3 separate regions of the Homo sapiens genome follow, and regions 1 and 3 are each linked to region 2. Evidence: promoter capture Hi-C in 16 types of primary human blood cells and fetal thymus (Javierre and others, 2016). All regions are on one chromosome and are shown on one strand. Each heading gives the region's core, a stretch centred on a gene start or on the middle of the fragment in contact. The rest is flanking DNA. Distances are from core to core; before and after follow the strand shown.

Region 1 (4,043 bases), core at 881-3,380, 190 kb after region 2:
AACCTTACAGTCCTTCCAAGAAGACATTTTTGAATAGAAAATAATTAGGGAAGACTTCAGTACCCAACTATTTGGTGTTGACCCTCAGTTCAATGGAAATTCAGAGAAAGGGACAATCAGGGATGATTGGGAAGAAATGGAAGTTGTACAAATTTAGGACCGAATTCAAGTAAGCAGCAGGAGAAAAAATGATGTTCCATATAGAAGGTACATCATGAGAAAAGCAAGAACACAGGAAAAGCAATGAATATACAGGGAAGGCAATGAGTATCTACAAGAATGGGCCAACTAAAAATGAATGTTCAGTGATTTTAAATAAGGTTAAATAAGAATGGTGCTGGCTACATCTATTATTTAGGTTTCTCCAGAGTAACAGAACCAATAGGATATTAGGTATTTAGATACTTGAGAGTGGATTTATTATGAGAAGTGGCTAACGTGATGATGGAGGTAAAGAAATCCCATGATATGGTGTCTGCAAGCTGGAGAACCAGGGAAACTGGTGGCATAGCTCAGTATAAATCCAAAGTGGGGCCGCTGGTGCACATCCTGGAGTCAGAAGGCCAAAGAGCCTGGAGTTCTGATGCTCAAGGGCCGGAGAAGATGGGTGTTCCAAATTCAGAAGAGAGAACGAATTCACCCTTCCTCTGCCTTTTTGTTCTATCTGAGCCATCAACCAACTGGATGGTGCCTGCCCATATGGGGTGAGGGTGAATCTTCCTTATTCAATTTACTAATACAAATACCAGTCTCTTCCAGAAACACCCTCACAAACATACCCAGAAATAATGCTTTACCAGCTATCTGAGTATCCCCTAAACCAGCCAAGTTGACACCTAAAATTAACCATCACACTAAGATAGGCCTTGCAATCCAGGCAGAAGGTCATGATTATGAGAGCTCAAAAGTGGAAGGGGCTACAGTCATCTAATGCAGTGGTTTTTAAACCAAGCTTCCCTGGGCCCCAGGACTCCAAAGAAGCATATCAGGAGTGCTAGAAATGAAATACTTTCCACCAACCATAAAAAATGTAAACCACTTGAGGAAACACTTTATTGTTTTTCATTGCCTTCTATATCTGGTTTCTGCTCAATATTTTATTAAAGAATTATTCTGCAAAAAATGTTTGAAAATTACCAATCCACAAAATACCTTATTTGAGACTTGATGTAGTGAGCAATAGGGAGGCATGGTAGGTTCTTGAGCAACAAAAGTATTGTATTAAAATTGACAAGATGTGGGAAGAGATTAGAGGCAGAACCCATAACAATGCCCCAATTCAAATTCTGCCTTCCCTAGGGAAATCTACTCTGACCAGCCTGGCCTGATACTCTTGCCCTGACTGTAATCTTACTGGCTGTAGAATTCATTTGCTAATTAATTAATCATGCACTGCATTGTGACATCTCTGCTAAAATGGCCTATTGCTTTTCTTTAACCTTTTTTTTTTTTTTTTTTTTTTTTTGGTCCTTAGGCTTTCATTGTCAGAGGAGAGATTGGGCAAAGATGAGTCTGGACTGTTGTAGAAGGGTTCAAGAACTGGCGTGGATGGCCTTTATAGATCATTCCTATCTCAGGGCCTATGACTCAGTAACATCTCTACCAATGGTAGTTCCTAGGAAGCGTGGCTTTACTCGTGCAGTAAATGGTGAGGGTGGGAGTTGGTTGATTGGTGGGTGGTCAAAAGTCCACACCAGGCTAGCTACCAATTAGAATAGACTGAAGGCTATGAATCTGACCACATCTGAGGAAGCACAGAGGAAGGAAATTTGACACTCATTCTGGCTTGTCTTGACTCTGAAGGAGCAGAACAGTTTCCCAGTTTCAGCCTGATATGGCTCATTGTTGACAGTCCAGCTCCCCCATGTTCTCAGAAGAACAACAGCCAGATTTTGCATGGTGACAAACTCCTATGCATGCAAGGAATCTGTCCTGGGTCACAGGCTAGGAGACTATCAAAATGCATACTAGCACCCAACTCTCTAGGACATTTTCACTTCCATCGCACCAAGCAGACTGCATAATTGAGTGAGTTTGCAGTTCACTAGTTAAGGTCCAGCCTCAGGACTGAGGCCAAAATGTGCTGGAAGAAACTCACTGCCTCGGGATATGATTCAATGACACTAGCTGGCTATTTCCTTTTCATTTTCTCTTAGCAGCCTGATTTTATCGCTTGGTATCAAGAATAGGAACAAAATCATCCCCAGAACTGAAACTTTTAGATTATGGCAGAAGAGATGAAGGAATATAAGGGTCTTATGGGTGGCGGGGAGCAGGGATCTGATCCCTTTCAATGAATAAGTACCAATAATAACAATAATAACTCTTAATTATTTAATTGCTTACCATAAGCAGACACTGATACAAGCACTTCACACAATATTAACTTGTCTAATTCTCACAACAACTGTATGAGTTAGGTACTATTCACTTTATTTTAAGAGATGAAGAAACTGAAGTTTACAAAGTACAAGTACCTCATCTAAGAAAGGGGAGCCTGATTAAGACCCTACCCACTAACTGCAATTGTTAAAAGCACGAATTCTAGAGCTAGACTGCCTGAGTTCCAATCTCTTATTAACAAGCTACTTATTAACACTTATCAACGAGTGACTTAATTCATCTGTGCCTCAGTTTCCTCCTCTCTAAAATGCATTTTTAAGACTGGGAGAGTACTTATGATGGATAAATGAGGCCATCCATGTAAAATGTTTAACATACACCTGAGTGATAGTAAAAAAATCATGTTTGCTATTATTATTAATTTAGGCAGTTTCCAAAGCCATTCTCCTTTAGGCAGTGCTTCACTGTGCCCACATTCACGCATTCATGTTTGAGTTAATATATCCATTCACATGTCCAACACTGCTGTCCACAGTCCCTCACCCATCCCTCCCCTTCATTCCAATATTACTTTTCCTCTCTTCCCCAGTGCTAAACCTAGGAAGGAAAAAACAAAAACAAAAATGAAACAGCCCTAGGTGTGATCCATTTCCATTTTAGATCCCTGGTATGTGCAATTAGTAAATGCTTGGTCTTCATCCCCACCCCCAACACAGACCTATTCAGTTTTGCTCTCCCTCCTCCAGTGGACGGTGTTGTGTAGATTCATGTGTACATAGAGGGGAGCAGTATGGTCCGTGTGTTCCTGAGGGTGAGGTGTTCTTATATTTTTTTGCAGCTGTTTGAAGCTGAGTGTTACTTGGGCCTTTCAAACTCACCACTCAGAGTCAGTCACCCCCTCAAGTAACCAAACATCTTTTCATGAGACACAGTTCTCTGTACAGAAATGAGAAACAGAAGCTTGCCCAAGAGAAAGCTGCAAAATTGCTCTGAGATCACCCACTGATACTGACCTATTCAGAGGCTCCACATATAGAAGCCTTGTACTTTGCCCTCAGAGCTGGAAGGATGCCTTTGATGGCTCCAACTCCCACCCCTGTTCCTGCCGCTCCTTAAATGTGTTGTCTCTGTTACAGAGGCAGAGCCTTCGTGCTCGCTATTTTCCCAGCCTTGAATGTCCTTTCATTTTCAGGGCTGTTTCCATCTCATCATTCAGGCCTGCAGATAGGTCCACAGCAGGCAAGGTCAAGTGTGGAGGTCTGTACAAGACAGGATGTTAGAACTGAGCGTCCTGCCAAAAGCTTAGCTGAGGTTCTGTAGCTCCAAGCTTCTCCTGTTGGTTTTAACACAACATATGCAAAGAAAAATCCCTAGGCATATAGCATCCAGACTACAAAGGAAGTTAATGAGGATTTTATGTTAATTTTAAAAGATTGTGAAAAGCTGTTAGGTCTAAGCCCCGATTGCAATGTTTCACAGGGGTGTTCACATTCTGAGTCCCTCTCAGCATAGAGGGTCACTGCTCTCTCTCTCTCTCTTTCTCTTTCTCTCTCTCTCTCTCTCTCTCTCTCTATATATATATATATATATATATACTGAATATTAGGAATGCCTTCTGTGGTTCAGTCTGTATCTTAGAATTCTCATTTTCTCACTGGATCCAGCCTAGGACTTTAATCTTGCATTCTTGGAATATCTGA
Region 2 (4,339 bases), core at 381-2,880:
GCAAGGGCAAACTGGTTCAACAATCAATTTCCAAATATTTGCATGCACTAGATACCAAAGATGGAAACACACATGATCTCTGCCCCCCAAAGATGTTGACTGGTGGGAAGAAGTGCCAATATAAAAATAGTGTTGAAAGGATTTAGTTAATACTATTGGTTGCACACAATCACACATCTGACACAAACTGGTTTAAGGCAGAAAAAAAGATCATTTATAAGCTTATGTAAATATGCAGTCCAAGAGTAAACCTGACTTCAGGGATGTAAACCCTACTGGATGAGAATCTTCATGGATGGGGCCTGGAAAGCTGTATTTTTGCCCCATCCTTATTTCCTACCAGGTAATTGTAATTCTGTTTTGGAAATAACTATTTTACGTAGATCATTCAAGTTGAAAATTAGATATTACACAGGGAGGAGAGAGACTGCAGGAGGAGACGATTATTCCTGAAGGGATGAGGGAATCCTGAACTCAGGCAGGAGCACCCCTTAGCACATTATGGGCCATGATGTCTGCTTGGTACTTACAACGGGGCTAATGCTGGCACCGGGAGCTTTGAAGGGGTGTCAGCAGAGGACCGTGCCAACTGTCTGTCAGTAAGTCTAAGGGTTCACGATCCTTATGAAAGTGGCTGCCACTTCCCTTCACCTAACAACTATTTATTGTGCAACTACATACCAGGCAGTGAGCTAGGCAGTGAGGACACACAGGTTCACAGGCAAAGAGCCTCTCTTCATGAAGCTTACATTCTAGACAGGAGATAGTCAGTAAACAATCAGAAAAACAAGCGCGCTACTGACTGTGTTAAGTTCTCTAAAGAGAAAAACCCCTTCACTCTATAGTTCCTAGTGCAGGCTGACATTGAATGGGATAGAGGAAAGGCCTTCGAGTTGACAACTTAGTGGAGAACTGAGAGGTGGGAATGAAGTAGTGGTTTGCAAGGCTGGAGTATGAGCCTTCCAAGGAGAGGCAATAGCAAGTGCAAAGGCCCTGCAGTGGGAGGGAACCAAGTGGGGTGAAGACACAGGAAGGATCAAGTATGGCCAGAGATCAGTGAGAAGGAAAGAGTAGAGTAGGATAAGTCTGAAGAGGCTGGCAAGAGCCAGTTTATGGGAAATCTTGTAGGCCCTGAAAGTTTGGATTTTATTCCACACACAACAAAGTGTTTGCTTTAAAAGGAATCTCCTGACTACTGTGTGGAGAAAGTATAAAATTAAGTTTGGGGCTAGATGGACCCCAAGATCCCTGTCTGGCCCCAATAACCCATGGCAAACTCCATGGGGTCCTCAGAAGTCCTCTTAGTAACTGTGGCTCCTATGTCAATGATGCTTAATAGAAGTATCCGCAAAAACAGAAATGTTCTGTATCTGCATACAAGTGGCTCTTGAACTGGAAATGTGGCTAGCGTGACTGCAGAACTGGATGTTAAATTTTATTCTATATAGACTAATTTATTTACGTTTATATAGCCACACGTGGCGAATGGCTATTATATTGGACAGCACAAGGCAACACTGAGCACCGAATGCCTGAGGATTTCTACTCCAAATCCTGAAGGCACGCCCTTCCCCGAATGTTGGGAGAGTGCGAGGATATGCTGACCCCCAAACGCAAATCCCCCTCTGTGCATTTAGTCTTGCCAAGATGGAGAGTCTCAGGCGGGCATTCTGAGCTGCTTCTTGTCACTGGGGAAAACCACGTGCACGCAGTGCTGAGGCGCCCCACGCGCGTCCTCAGGGGAAGCCAGGCACTGAGAACAAAGGTTGTGGGACCGCTCTTTGAGGAACTCACCAGCTCCGCGAGCTCGCGGCCGCCAGCGCGGTCCACCCATTGGCGGGAGAGGACTCACAGACCGCAGCTCCTCACCCCGCCTGCTCCGCAGCGGGACCGCGTAGACCTCAGCTCCCCGAGCAGCGCAGGTGGGCCAGGGAAGGAGAGGACCGAGGCAAGCCACCACGCGGGATTAGGGGTACGGGGACCCCTCGCCGCGCAGTCGCCTCTTTTTCACAGGGATGGGGGCAGGGGTGGCGCCGGCTGTCACCCGCACCGGATCTGCTTCCAGGGCTTGGTTTCGCTTTGCCTGGCTCTTGGCTAGGCCTGGCGCCCCGCGCGGAGCCGAGCAGGTGGCAGCCGAGGAGTGGCGGGGGCTGGAACATTTAACCCTTTGGGAGCACCTGCCCTCTCCCAGAGGGCGCGTCCCCGGATCAGGCCCGGTGCCCCGCAGCGCGCGTGGGTCCTGGCTGGCTGGAAGGAGGCCCTGACCTTGCTTTCTCTCCCGTGCCAGGTCTGCCAAGGACCATGGGTGCCGCGCTGGGGACAGGCACGCGGCTGGCTCCCTGGCCGGGCCGGGCCTGCGGCGCCCTCCCGCGCTGGACACCCACCGCGCCCGCCCAAGGCTGCCACTCCAAGCCTGGCCCGGCGCGCCCTGTGCCCCTGAAGAAGCGCGGATACGATGTCACCAGGAACCCTCATCTCAACAAGGTAATGGGCCAGAGGGCAGGACGGCCCGCGTTGCGATCCCGTGGCTGCCGGAAAATTGCGCCCCGCCCCCTGGACCCAGAAAGGATCCTCCCGGGCGCCCTTCCAGCGGTTTTTCTGTTTTTGCCTTGCAGGGGCTTGTTGTGACTTGGTTTGGCTTTCTTGTCCCTCCTCTCCCTTTTATGCGTGGAGAGAGGCGACCAGTAATGCAGGGAGCCTAATTTCTTCTGCAGTAACAACACAGACCAGGTTTAGATCCTCGCGGTCAGTCTGACCTGCGGTCAGCTCTCCCCTTGATGCTTACTAATTTTATTGGTCTTGGGCAGTTCATTTAACCTACATGAGCCTAGGTTTCCTTATCTGTAAAAGAGATATAATTGTCTTAGGAATGTCGTGAGATCTAAAGAGAAAATGCGGGTAGAAAATGGGGGTACGTTAGAACAGTGCCTGGTACCCAGTGGGAGAATAAATAAGGTTATGATTATTATTCTGAGAAAAAGATTAATTTGAGAGCAAGGATGGAAAAGTCTAGACTTATAGAAATTTTCGAGCTTGCAGGAGCATTAGAGATCCTAGTTTAAACCTCTTCTTTTACAAAAAACAAGACAAAGGAAACTTGCCCAAGGTCACCAGCTAGTTAGTTCTGGCTCTGCCACTGGAATCCAGATCTCCAATGCTTTGGTCGAGTTCAACCCACCGCTAGCTCTTTTGTATTTGTTTTTGGGAATAGAGTTTAGTATCTTTGGTTCAGAGGATTGGGTGAGAGAAATAGAAGCAAGGACAGATTTAGTCCTGTCTCCCCCTACCTCCTCAAATTAACTCACATATCTCATTTAACTTATCTGAGGCCCAACTTTCTCCAGCCTAAAATAGATATTATGATAGACCCACCATTTCTATCTCATTTGGTTATTGTGACAATAAAATGAATCACTGAACTTGAAATCATATTTTAAACTGTATAAAGTGCTGAATAACAATTACTGCAAAATAAATTTTTTTTTCATAATTGCTCTGACTCTGGATTGTGAAATTCAGGTGAGGCAGTCTGTATGGAAAAGATGTTTTTGAGAAGTAGGAACAACTATATAATGTGAAGTATTGTGACTGTTTCCTACAGAACTAATAGAAGCGGCTAAGGAAAAAAAAATCAAAATCAACCTCTATCACATTGGAGTCCTGCTCTTTCCAAAAGAAACCTTAAATTGTTTGGACGCTACCACTTTCCAAAGTGTTCAAGGTGTTTGTTATCACCTTGAATTACTTTGCTAGTAAGCGTTAGAAAATACAAACTGGCTTAAGCACACAAAGGCTCCTTTATCTAAAGAATCTAGAGGAAGGGTTGCAGGCACGGCTTGAACCACAAGCCCAGATGGCATTGCTCAAGATGCAGATTCTCTCTGGCTCTCTACTCTGCCTCTCTGCAAGGTCAGTTTCATCCTCAAGCTCTATTCAGTGAAGTCTCTCACTTCGTTATTGCCACAGTCCTCCATCTCCTGTTCTCACACCACATCATCCAGGAATAGAAAGATACTTTTATTCTGGTAGCTCTTGGGGAAGAGAAAATACCCTTTCTCTGACGCCTCAGAAAGCGAATCCTTCTGCCTTATTGACTCTGATTAGATTCTCTCTTCCCATTCCCAAACCAAAACCAATCACCAGTAATTAAAGCCGGTCAGAGCCCACCCCTGGAGTTAAAATGGGGTTTAAGGTAGGGCCACCCACACCATCTGGCTTGGAATAAAGGGAATATAGATCCTCACAGTAAATATGGATAGTGTCATCAGAAGGAGGAGGAATGGATGTAGAAAGCAAAACAATAAATTCCCACTACAGGCTCCAATCATTGTGAAAATAA
Region 3 (3,871 bases), core at 538-3,037, 240 kb after region 2:
CAGACCTAAATGTGAGAGCTAAAACTGTAAAATTTCTAAGATAAAATATAGCAGAATATCTTTATGACTTAGGTTGAGGAGAGTTCTGAGATACAACTTTAAAAGCATGATTCATAAAAGAAATAAATTGTACTTCATCAAAATTTAAAATTTTGCACTTTGAAACACTTTTTTTTGGGAGGGAAAAAGACAAGCAGCAGACTGGGAGAAAATAATTGCAAATCATATATCTGACGAAGACACTGGATCCGGAATATATAAAGAACTACTTCAACTTAATAAGAAGATGACAATTCAAATTTTAAAATGAGAAAAATATTTAAATCAGCATTTTATCCAAAAAGATAGGTGAATGGCTAACAAGCACATGAAAAATGTTTAACATTATTAGTAATAAGAAAATTAAAACCACAATGGCATAACAACACTCACCAGAATGGCTATAATAAAAAAAAAAGATCTGTTGGTAAGAATGTGGAGAACTTTGTCTCCTAAGCACTATTAGATTAAGGGAGAGTTCCCTTGCCTTGTAAGTCTTCACTCTAACTCCCCAGCCTCCCATACATAGCCCCAGTATTCAGCAAGTGTCATTTAAGAGAGTGGATGCTGTGGTTGCACCACCTAGATCCTGCCTTGGGTCTGAAACACTCATTCCTCCAGATGCCATTGTCAGCTGAGGGCCACCAGCTGCATCGCTCTCTAGGAATTGCCCTCGACTGAAGGTGAATGCTTCACCCAAGATTATGCCATCATCCCCAAGGGAAGCCTACAGGCAATGACTGGTTGATTCAAGGGCCCAAAGGCCAGATTCCTAGCCTCAATTGAGAACATCTCTAAATAGCCATCCCATCCTCAGAGCTCCCTATGAGACTGGCTGAGGCTACTGTTGCAACTGCTATGTATCACCATTCAACTTCTTATGCCCTATCCTGTTTCTCTTGCTCCCCCATAGATGTTCTCTGAGAAGACACCCCAGTAATCCTCTGGATGCGAATCTCAGATTCAGTGTCTATTTCCTGAGGAACCCAACTTATAACACGTAGAAGAAACTGGCCAAAGTTCTTAATTTTCCAATTTGTTGCACCAGCCCCACGTGACCACCAAAAGCTTTTCTGGGTTTCCCTTTCCCTCAGGAGAGACCCTCTTCACAGACCAAGCTTGATCCTTATTAGTCCATGTCCAGAATCAGTAAATGTCCCTAGAAAATAAAATGGCCACTTACCTCAGGAGGACTCCTCCCTCTCTGGAATTCCCATTCACCTAGTCCTTATTGCTTTCATAGCTCTCACATATCTTTAAATATGATCTTTATAATTTTTCCATCTTTTTCTAGTTGTTGCAGGCAAAGTTTTAGGCTGCCATGACCTACTATATCCTATTTAGAAGTGGAAGTCTCTAGAGAGATTTTCAAAATTACAGATGTGTGGATATTAGCTTTTCTCCTAATTTAATTGAATTGTGGTGAGAGAAGGTGTTCTGTATTATTCAAATAGCTTAAAATTTGCTGAAATGGGTTTATAATCAAATATATGGTCAAATTTAATAGTTCATGTACTCTTATAAATATGTATTCTCCCATTGTTGGATGCAATGCCCTTTGTATGTTCATGGGATCAAGTTTGTTGACTGTTTTGTGTAAATCTATATGCAAAATCTTGATTTTTGTCTACTTGATCTGCTTCTGAAAGAGGAACAATAAAACTTCCCACTGCTACGGTAAACTTGCCAATTTTCCTTGTAATTCTGTCCATATTTGCTCTATTTACCTTGGACCAATGCATCTTTACCTTTTAACAAACACTTACTAAATTAAAAGTCCTAGACCATATGTTCTGCACAAGATCAAAACAACATTTTACTAGAAATATTTCATAGTCTCCTCTCATTCTGTCTTCAGGGCCCTCTGTGTTAAGTTACACCCCAACCGTAAACATTAACGGTAAGGCCTTTTTATTTGAAGACATTCAACACATGTGCTTCTGTACAACATGGATTTTGCATGAACTTTCAATCAGATGTCGATTTTTCAAAATGGAGGTTTTCATAACAAAATGAGATTAGACAAAGACATCAAATAACCACAAGATGTGTAAAGAATCCAACAAAATCACCTGTTGGACAAACCTGATGTATACTGGGACCCGTGTAGGATGGTAAACATGAAGCAGGCAAATAATCATATAGGCCCTACTTGCAGTGTTTGATATGACTTAAGGGATGAGCTACATAAAGTTATAGTTCCTGGAGTTTTAATTCTGTATGATACTAAAAATATACAAATTTTGTGCTGGGGATCTTGGCATCTAATCTCTAGATTTCTTATGTATTTTTTCTGGCATAGGAATAGCACTAAGCCAAACATAGAAGTTGCATTTCTGTTAAATTCGTGGCTTTTTGATATCCCTATGGAAGCTTCATCAGACTTATTCACTAAGCCCATATGTTGGCTAAAATGTACAATAAATTAGGTCTTTTCTCAAGTCCCACTTTCAAGGCAATAGCATCAGGCAGCCAGGTTTATTGAATACAACAGTTGTTTCTGTGACCACTGGAGTCTTTGAAGCTGAGAGGTGACAGCGTGCTGGCAGCCCTCACAGCCCCTGCTCACTCTCAGCGCCTCCTCGGCCTTGGTGCCCACCCTGGCCACGCTTGAGGAGCCCTTCAGCCCGCCACTGCACTGTGGGAGCCCCTTTCTAGGCTGGCCAAGGCCAGAGCTGGCTCCCTCAGCTTGCAGAGAGGTGTGGAGGGAGAGGCGCAAGCGGGAACCGGGGCTGCGCCCGGCGCTTGTGGGCCAGCTGGAGTTCCGGGTGGGCATGGGCTTGGCGGGCCACGCACTCAGAGCAGCCGGCCAGCCCTGCCGGCCCCAGGCAATGAGGGGCTTAGCACCCGGGCCAGCAGCCACGGAGGGTGTACTGGGTCCCCCAGCAGTGCCAGCCCACCAGCGCTGTGCTCGATTTCTCGCCAGGCCTTAGCTGCCTCCCCGCGGGGCAGGGCTCGGGACCTGCAGCCTGCCATGCCTGAGCCTCCCCACCTCCGTGGGCTCCTGTGCGGCCCGAGCCTCCCCGATAAGCGCTGCCCCCTGCTCCATGGCGCTCAGTCCCATCGACCACCCAAGGGCTGAGGAGTGCAGGCGAACGGCGCGGGACTGGCAGCCAGCTCCACCTGCGGCCCCGGTGCGGGATCCACTGGGTGAAGCCAGCTGGGCTCCTGACTCTGGTGGGGACTTGGAGAACCTTTATGTCTAGCTCAAGGTTTGTAAACACACCAATCAGCACCCTATGTCTAGCTCAGGGTTTGTGAATGCACCAGTTGACACTGTATCCAGCTACTCTGGTGGGGACCTGGAGAACCTTTATGTCTAGCTAAGAGATTGTAAATACACCAATCGGCAGTCTGTATCTAGCTCAAGGTTTGTAAACACACCAATCAGCACCCTGTGTCTAGCTCAGGGTTTGTGAATGCACCAATCTACACTCTGTATTTAGCTAATCTAGTGGGGACATGGAGAACTTTTGTGTCTAGCTCAGGGATTGTAAATGCACCAATCAGCACCCTGTCAAAACGGACCAATCAGCTCTCTGTAAAATGGACCAATCAGCAGGGTGTGGATGGGGCCAGATAAGAGAATAAAAGCAGGCTGCCCCAGCCAGCGGTGGCAACCAGCTAGGGTCCCCTTCCACGCTGTGGAAGCTTTGTTCTTTTGCTCTTTGCAATAAATCTTGCTGCTGCTCACTCTTTGGGACCACACTACCTTTACGAGCTGTAACACTCACCACAAAGATCTGCAGCTTCACTCCTGAAGCCAGCAAGACCACGAACCCACCAGGAGGAACGAACAACTCCAGACGCACCGCCTTAAGAGCTGTAACAC

The links. The method cuts DNA at HindIII sites, captures the fragments that hold promoters and counts their contacts. A CHiCAGO score of 5 or more calls a contact.
Region 1: a contact is called between a fragment that was not itself captured here and the fragment with the promoter of ME3 in region 2, in 1 of 17 cell types (endothelial precursors). The highest score is 7.7, in endothelial precursors.
Region 3: a contact is called between a fragment that was not itself captured here and the fragment with the promoter of ME3 in region 2, in 1 of 17 cell types (endothelial precursors). The highest score is 5.3, in endothelial precursors.

What each region holds. Positions count from the first base shown.
Region 1 is chr11:86,475,747-86,479,789 of GRCh38, reverse strand. All of the region lies in intron 7 of ME3 (malic enzyme 3), which reads left to right. Among named protein-coding and RNA genes, the nearest start is that of CCDC81, 100 kb to the right of the region's middle. The HindIII fragment of the contact is 2,351 bases long and covers 955-3,305 here.
Region 2 is chr11:86,669,907-86,674,245 of GRCh38, reverse strand. ME3 (malic enzyme 3) reads left to right here and starts at 1,630. Exons shown (of 15, transcript NM_001161586.3): 1 at 1,630-1,922; 2 at 2,288-2,484. The coding sequence starts at 2,302. The HindIII fragment of the contact is 7,449 bases long and covers 747-4,339 here.
Region 3 is chr11:86,432,780-86,436,650 of GRCh38, reverse strand. It overlaps the pseudogene PTP4A1P6 and a transcript of ME3 not described here. Among named protein-coding and RNA genes, the nearest start is that of CCDC81, 60 kb to the right of the region's middle. The HindIII fragment of the contact is 1,255 bases long and covers 1,160-2,414 here.